Linked DNA regions of Homo sapiens: regions 1 and 2 are each linked to region 3. The links are contacts of gene promoters, found by promoter capture Hi-C in blood cells and fetal thymus (Javierre and others, 2016). All regions are on one chromosome and are shown on one strand. Each heading gives the region's core, a stretch centred on a gene start or on the middle of the fragment in contact. The rest is flanking DNA. Distances are from core to core; before and after follow the strand shown. Region 1 has its middle 9.7 kb from the start of TRR-CCT4-1. Region 2 has its middle 43 kb from the start of KDM7A-DT. Region 3 holds the start of UBE3C (ubiquitin protein ligase E3C).

Region 1 (2,735 bases), core at 126-2,625, about 18 Mb before region 3:
GTGGGTGATGGATGTAGGAGCTCCAGGATGCCTTGGAACGTCTTGTCCCAGTATGTTTCTGCTTGTACAGGTATTCAAAATGAGGGCCAAACCCTTCTTTGGAATCCAACTCTGCTCTAGGCTAGTTGGCTGCCCCCAGACCAGGATTTAGCACCAACAAACTGAGAATGTGATCAGAGGACTGGGGCCACTAACATAACTGGAAAAGAAAAGCAGAAAAGCATTCTCCCAACTCCTGTTCAATTAATTCAACAAATAGCTGTGGCCATGGCTGCAAAGGTACCAAGGTGCAATGACTAAGAACTCTAGCTTTGGGGTCAGATAGTCCTGCGTTCTCATGCTGGCTCCACAAGGCCCACAAGCTGTGCACTCTGGGCAAGGTACCATATGAGCCTGAAGTTCCCATCTCCCCCTAAGAAAATCCCCAGAAAAGAGTTTTCTTGTAGTGAAGCCCTTACAACACCTGTCATATTATAGGGTGCCCCCTCAATTACTTTACTTGGAAAAAGAACTATTTGCTTCAAATGTACATCACCTTAGATGACCTCAATTAATGCAAGTTTGGGGTATCTATAGAGGCCAAAAACCAAACAAAATCAGTTTTTTTAAGTGACAGAGAAATTTTTCAATTTTTAAGTGTATGAGAAATTCATAACATTTATCATAACTGTTTTAAGTGTTAAGTATGTTTTCATTGTTGTGAACTAGATCTCCAGATCTTGTAGAACTGAAACTGTGTACTCATTAAATAACTCCTTTTTGCCTCTTACTTCCAGCTCCTGGTAACCACCATTCAACTTTCTTTATCTATGACTCTGACAACTGTAGATACTTCATATAAGTGAAATCATGTAGTATTTGTCCTTCTGTGACTGGCTTATGTCACTTAGTGTAATGTCTTCAAGGTTAGTCCATGTTGTTTGTCATGTGACAGGATTTCCTTCCTCTGTAAGGCTGAATAATATTGCATGATATGAATAGACCACATTTTATTTATCCATTCATCCACTGATGGACACGTGGGTTGTTTCCACCTCTTGGCTCTTGTGAATAATGCCGCCATGAATGTGGGTGTACAAATATCTGTTTGAGTTTCTACTTTGAATTCTTTTGGATATATACCCAGAGGTGGGGCTGTTGAATCTTATGGTAGTTCTATTTTTAATTTTTTGAAGAACTGCCATACAGTTTTCCATAGTGGTTGCACCCTTTTACAATACCACTGTTGGGTTTTTTCTCACACCTCTTCAACACCAAATGAGGGTAGTTGTTTTTTTCCCTTCCTGACACCAACCTATTCTCCAACTCTCCAGACACCAACCGAGAATCCTACCATTCAATTCCATTTTGACAGTAACTACCCAGAGTTACTATAAGACTCACAGCTTTAAGCATTCAGTCCCACAAGACTGCCTTCACTTACACGACCTGGGCCAGTCTCCAGTATTGGGTCCCCAGGTTACCCACACTTCTGTCTGACATAACTATAAATTCAGGGGTTCCCACAATCCTCCCAGATTTGATAATTTGCTAGAATGACTCACAGGACCCAGGAAAGTGCATTACTTACTATCGTCAGGTTATTATAAAGGATACAACTTAGGAACAGCTGAATGGAAGAAATAAATAGAGCAAAGTATGGGAACGGGAAAAGTGGAGCTTCCATGCCCTCTCTGGGTATACCATCCTCCTAGCACCTCAATGCATTACCAACCCAGAAGCTCCCAAAACCCTGTTGTGGAGAAATTTTAGTGGCAGTTTCATACACCGTCATATGTAGCCCTGACTGATTCGATCATTGGCCATTGCAGATTGACTCAATCATAACCTCTCTCCTCTCCCAACAGAGGCATGGCTTTCAGGAAGAGAAAGTATTTCCCCTCTACTGAAACCAGGGCAGGCAATTAGGAGGGTTGTGGAGAGAGGATGAGAGGATTTTTTGTCAGTGAGCTACTGTGTTGAAAAGTGGATCTGGGCCGGGCACGGTGGCTCACGCCTGTAAACCCAGCACTTTGGGAGGCCGAGGCGGGAAGATCATGAGGTCAGGAGATCGAGACCATCCTGGCTAACACGGTGAAACCCCATCTCTACTAAAAATACAGAAATTGGCCGGGCACGGTGGCTCACGCCTGTAAACCCAGCACTTTGGGAGGCCGAGGCGGGAGGATCATGAGTTCAGGAGATCGAGACCATCCTGGCTAACACGGTGAAACCCCATCTCTACTAAAAATACAGAAATTGGCCGGGCACGGTGGCTCACGCCTGTAATCCCAGCACTTTTTGGGAGACCCAGGCGGGCAGATCACGAGGTCAGGAGATCGAGACCATCCTGGCTAACACGGTGAAACCCCGTCTCTACAAAAAATACAAAAAAATTAGCCGGGTGTGGTGGCGGGCACCTGTAGTCCCAGCTACTCGGGAGGCTGAGGCAGGAGAACGGCGTGAACCCGGGAGGCAGAGCTTGCAGTGAGCCGAGATCGCACCACTGCAGTCTAGCCTGGGCAACAGAGTGAGACTCCGTCTCAAAATAAATAAATAAATAAATAAATAAATAAATAAATAAATAAATAAATAAATAAAAAGTGGATCTGCCGGACACGGTGGCTCATGACTGTAAACCCAGCACTTTGGGAGGCCAAGGTGGGTGAATCACTTGAGGTTAGGAGTTTGAGACCTCACTGGCCAACATGGCGAAATACCTTCTCTACCAAAAAATATAAAATTTAGCTGGGTGC
Region 2 (2,700 bases), core at 140-2,639, about 17 Mb before region 3:
CCTTGGGATTAAAAGAAGCTAAGATAATTGTAGGAAATTTCATGTAGGAAGCAAGGCGGCTTGAGCAGGAGATGGTGGCCAGGAAGAGGAGCTGCTGGTATGAGGCTCCCTGGGGCTAGCTGGCCACGGCCTCAGAAGCATGCGGGTGGTGTCTTGTTTCCTTTGCTTTCTCTTCTATAATTCTTTGGAATTTTCCAGAGACTTTAATAACAGACTCTCTCACCCAGTGGCATGGGGTAGGTGAGTGGTGTCCTCGGGTGTGAAGACAAGGGGGCATGTTTACATCTGAGGCTGATGTAAATTACAGAGCTTGGGCAGCCCACAGGTGATTCAGAAATAGGGATTAGACCAAGAATTTAGAGAGAAAATGGAAAGACATACATCCGGCCAGGCGCGGTGGCTCATGCCTGTAATCTCAGCACTTTGGGAAGCTGAGGTGGGCAGACTGCCTGAGCTCAGGAGTTTGAGACCAGCCTGGGAAACGTGGTGAAACCCCATCTCTACTAAAAATACAAAAATCAGGGCCGAGCGCGGTGGCTCACGCCTGTAATCCCGCGCTTTGGGAGGCCGAGGCTGGCAGATCATGAGGTCAAGAGAGCGACACCATCCTGGCCAACATGGTGAAACTCCATCTCTACTAAAAATACAAAAATTAGCTGGGCGTGGTGGCATGTGCCTGTAGTCCCAGCTACTCGGGAGGCTGAGGCAGGAGAATTGCTTGAACCCAGGAGGCGGAAGTTGCAGTGAGCTGAGATCACGCCACTGCCCTCCACCCTGATGACAGAGCGAGACATTGTCTCAAAAAAAAAAAAAAAAAAAAAAAAAGACATAGGCAGGAAGAGTCATCTGCCTAGAGGGAAAGGGTTTTCTTTTGTTTCAAAATGGAAAAGACTTCAAAGTATTTAATTGATGATGAGAAAACAAAACAAAACAAAACATTAAAGAGGAAAAGAGGAAAGATTTAAGAGAGACTATACCTTCCCAACCAAAGCCCAGATGCAGGATTTGGTTGGTTCTTAAACACTCTAGATTGAAAAGAACACCACAACACCACACCCCCATGAGACGGGATCAGCCCGCACACCTGCTCAGGGTGATACTCCAGAGTCCCAATGCCATCAATTTCATCTTGAGCGTCAGGAACCAATTGGCTGAATCATTAAGCCCAGGCCTCTCTACTGTACCCACCCCACCTGGGGGTGTAAGGCCCTCTGATGAACAGGTGACATTAAAGCAAATGAACGTTGACTCATAGCCTACTAAGCTTACATACTTGATAATATTTCATTTTCCCAGTAGTCCTGCGTAGGCATTACTATTCCCATTGTAAAGATGAGTACACTAAGGCTCAGAGAAATTACATACCAAGCAGGAAAAGGCAGAACAGGGAACCAAACCTGGATCGTATTTCAGCATTCATTTTCTTTTCATTCCAGACCTCAGGGAATATATTCTAAGGCCCCCAGAGACAAGAAAATTATGTTCCAGTACCTCCGGAATTAGAGAAAGATGACCAAGCTTTTCCCTGATACCTCCCTAGATTTTCACAATTACAGAAACATGGTCCTCTACCTCCGGAACCACAGAAACCTGAACCTACATAACCTGTCCAACTTGCTTCTCTCGAAACCCAGAAACTTTCTACAGTTGCTCCTGATGTTTCTCACCTGTCATGGAGCTTTAGAGCTACTGAGAGCTGGGGTAACGTAAAAAAGCAGAGAGAAGAGAGCTGGTCTGGTTGAAGGGGTGGGAAGGGGACATGGAAGCCCTTGCTTGGACTCTTATTTCAGCTCCAGTTATTCCCATTAAACTTGAGGTGCCTCCAAGAAACCCCAGGACTTATTTGAACACAGTTTAACAGCCACAGCTATTAATCACAGGCTTTTTTTTTTTTTAAGACGGAGTTTTACTCTTGTTGTCCAGGCTAGAGTGCAATGACACGATCTCGGCTCACTGCAACCTCTGCCTCCTGGATTCAAGCGATTCTCCTGCCTCAGCCTCCCGAGTAGCTGGGATTACAGGCATGCGCCACCACACCAGCTAATTTTGTATTTTTAGTAGAGATGGGGTTTCTCCATGTTGGTCAGGCTGGTCTCGAACTCCCGACCTCAGGTGATCTGCCCGCCTCAGCCTCCCAAAGTGCTGGGATTACAGGCATGAGCCACCAAGACTGGCCTTTTTTTTTTTTTTTTTTTTAATGAAAATTTTGAAGCTGAAGAAAGTAAAATGACCTGCCCAGGGTTACAAAGAGAGCCTAAGTGAACTGCAAACCCCAATAACCTGTTTATTTCACAGCTACTAAATCCAGCTTTCTCTGATAGACTGCTGGCTGCTTAACCTAACCCAATACCAATGCGCCTTCTCCCACTTAGTAACAAACCCCAAATTTATTCTGAGTAACACTGCTTGCTGCCAAAGGACTAAATTTCCCAGCCTCTCTTCAATTTGGACTGGCCATTTTAAATTCTAGCCAAAGAGATGTAAGCAAAAATATAGTATGGTTCTTCTAGGAAGAACATAGGCCTTTCTTCTCCTTTTCCTCTGTCCTGCTGCCTAGAAGTCAGATGTGATGGCTGGAGCTCCAGCAGTCAATTTGGACCATAAGGATGAGACACAGCCTAGGGAATGCAGTCAGAAAACTGGAAAGAGTCTGAATAATGGGGACGCTGACATAATAGACCTCAACTATGTACATGAGAA
Region 3 (2,700 bases), core at 1-2,500:
TGCCTTAGCCTCCAGAGTAGCTTGGACTACAGGCGTGCACCACCACACCGGCCTAAGTTTTGTATTTTATTAGAGATGGGGTTTCACCATGTTGGCCAGGCTGGTCTCGAACTTTTCACTTCAGGTGATCCGCCCGCCTTGGCCTCCCAGAGTGCTGGGATTACCGGCGTGAGCGACCGTGCTCGGCCGCAGGACGACTGTAGATGATATCGTATTGTGTGTTGAAATTTTGCTAAGAGAGTAGATTTTATGTACTCTTACCACACACACACAAAGAGGGTAGTCATTTCACAATGTCTCTATGAAATCATCATGTTGCACACCTTGTATACAACCAAAAATCAATTTTTAGAAATTGGTTTCAATCGTGTATGATATATATGTATATGCACATGTATATGAGATATTATGTATACGTATGTGTGGATATAAGACACATGTTTATGTATAGGTGGTCCCCAACTTAAAATGGCTCAACTTACAATTTTTTGACTTTGTGATGGGTTTATTGTAGCATTAAATACATTTTCAACTTACAATATTTTCATCTTACGATGGGTTTATCAGGACAAAGCCCCATGGTAAGTCCAGGAGCAAATATTTTTGCATACACAGGTATGTGTACATGATACATATTTATATGTATTGATGCTGTATCTATAGATGCATATGTGTGCTATGTATGAGGCAAATCTGCGCATGTCTGTGTACATGGTAAATATTTACGTCCGTCTGTGCGTGTCATAGACATAGAACAGGTGGGATGTAAACAGACGGGCTGGGCCTAGCTGCTCCTTTCCCGCCTCACTCGAGTCTGGCACCAGATTGGCCGCTCCCAGCCCGCTCCGGGTGCCGGCCCCTGCACCCCACCCTGCACCCCGCACCCTGCCCTGCACCCCATCCCGGCCCGTGCCTCGCACTCCACCTTTCCCGCACCCTGCCCCGCACCCAACACCTCCCGCGCCCCTCGCCGCGCTCCCCCAGCACGCACCAGGCCCCGCCCACTCCGCCGCGTGCCCAGCCCGCGTCACCGCCGTCCTCCCCAGGCTCCAGCGCGCCTTGCGGGGCCGCGCACGCTAGCGGAACCGCCGGGAAGAGCGCCGTGCCGTCAATGGCGGAGGCGCGCACGTCTGCAGGGCCGCGCACGTCTGCAGGGCCGCGCACGTCTGCAGGGCCGCGCACGTCTGCAGGGCCGCGCACGTCTGCAGGGCCGCGCACGTCTGCAGGGCCGCGCACGTCTGCAGGGCCGCGCACGCACTGACGGCTGACCGCCATCTTCCCTCCCGAGGCGGCAGTTCCAGGTGCAAGCGCCGGGTTTGCTGCCCGCTGGGCGCCCCTGCAGCGGCCCGAGCTGTGGCCGGCGTGGATGAGGGGCAGGCGAGGCAGGGCCGCCCCTCCAGTATTGCCGCCCCTCCCGCCCCAGGGCAGGGCTGGGAGGGTACAGCCCGGGGGCGGGCTCGGGTCGCCTCCCGGCCGCCGCGTCCTCGCTGCCCCGGGCCGGGCGGGCGGGCGCCGAGAGCCTCCCAGCCCGCCCCGTGCCCCGCCCGCCCGGCTGCTTCCGCGGCGGCGCTGCCCGCACATGGGCTAGGCTGCCAGGATGTTCAGCTTCGAAGGCGACTTCAAGACGCGGCCCAAGGTGTCCCTTGGCGGCGCGAGCAGGAAGGTGAGGGCCGGGCTGGCGGGGCGCCCTCGGCTCGGGGCCTGCGCGGCCGGGGCTCGGGGCTGGGACTCGGGGCTGGACTCGGGGCTGGACTCGGGGCCGAGACTTGGGGCTGGATTCGGGGCCTCCCTGGCGGGGACTCGGGGCTTCCTCGCCGGATCTCGGGGCCGCTCCGGCCGGGACTCGGGGTTGGACTCGGAGCCGAGACTTGGGGCCAGGACTCTGGCTGGGGCTTAGGACTGGACTCGGGGCCTCCCTGGCTGGAACTCGAGGCCGCGCCCGTGGGGGCCTTGCCTGTCCACTGCGCTTCGGGACCCGGGCGCGCTGGCCGTGGCTCCCTTCCATGCAGGAGGCCGGTGAACCCTGGCACGCTTTGTGCCACCCAAGGTGAACTTACCCTTTCTGGGTGTTTCCTTTCAGAAATGCGCTTTCCATGCTCGCTCCCGCATGGCATCAGGGAGTGGCTGCTTTTCGAATGCCACCTGAAGGGCGTTTTCGGTTGTAGAAGGTGAACGGCACGCATTTGCTGATGTCGATAATCTCTAAAGTAGAGGCAGAACGTCTCATGAATAGCCACGTGTTTGAATCCAAGACGAGGGCAATTATTTGCCACCAGCCTCCTGGAAACTGTGGAGAGACTCCGGACTTACATCTGTTGTGATCGACATTAAGTTGTTCGCATGGTAATTGTTTAGGATAAGGGTAGGCAAACCATGACGCCTCTGTTCTAGTCTAGAATTTCTAGCTGTCTGTCCCTGAAGACGGGCATCAGTTGGTTCACTGGAACCGCTAAGTCGTTGAACACTGTGTGGTCTTGTTCCCGCCCCTCCCTTCCCACCCCTTCCCATCATTTCTGAAATGTTCTTTAAAATGCTTCACCTAGTTTTTCTTGTCTATCAGTATATTCTGTATATCACAACCACCAGGTAGGCACATAACGCAGAGTGGGTGCTGGCAGGCCAAGGAGGAACTGCTGTTATTAAGATTGTGCTGTGGGGCTGTGTTTGGTGGTTTCTGAGGTTAGAAGGGAACCTGGGTAA

Evidence for each region. The method cuts DNA at HindIII sites, captures the fragments that hold promoters and counts their contacts. A CHiCAGO score of 5 or more calls a contact.
Region 1: a contact is called between a fragment that was not itself captured here and the fragment with the promoter of UBE3C in region 3, in 1 of 17 cell types (neutrophils). The highest score is 5.2, in neutrophils.
Region 2: a contact is called between a fragment that was not itself captured here and the fragment with the promoter of UBE3C in region 3, in 1 of 17 cell types (naive CD8 T cells). The highest score is 5.8, in naive CD8 T cells.

What each region holds. Positions count from the first base shown.
Region 1 is chr7:139,329,660-139,332,394 of GRCh38, forward strand. It overlaps a transcript of UBN2 not described here. Among named protein-coding and RNA genes, the nearest start is that of TRR-CCT4-1, 9.7 kb to the right of the region's middle. The HindIII fragment of the contact is 3,297 bases long and covers 1-2,735 here.
Region 2 is chr7:140,218,710-140,221,409 of GRCh38, forward strand. No RefSeq gene overlaps it. Among named protein-coding and RNA genes, the nearest start is that of KDM7A-DT, 43 kb to the left of the region's middle. The HindIII fragment of the contact is 254 bases long and covers 1,263-1,516 here.
Region 3 is chr7:157,137,676-157,140,375 of GRCh38, forward strand. It overlaps UBE3C (ubiquitin protein ligase E3C), which reads left to right and starts at 1,251. Exons shown (of 23, transcript NM_014671.3): 1 at 1,251-1,663. The coding sequence starts at 1,598. RefSeq lists silencers at 743-1,092, 1,373-1,762, 1,813-1,882. The HindIII fragment of the contact is 7,086 bases long and covers 1-2,700 here.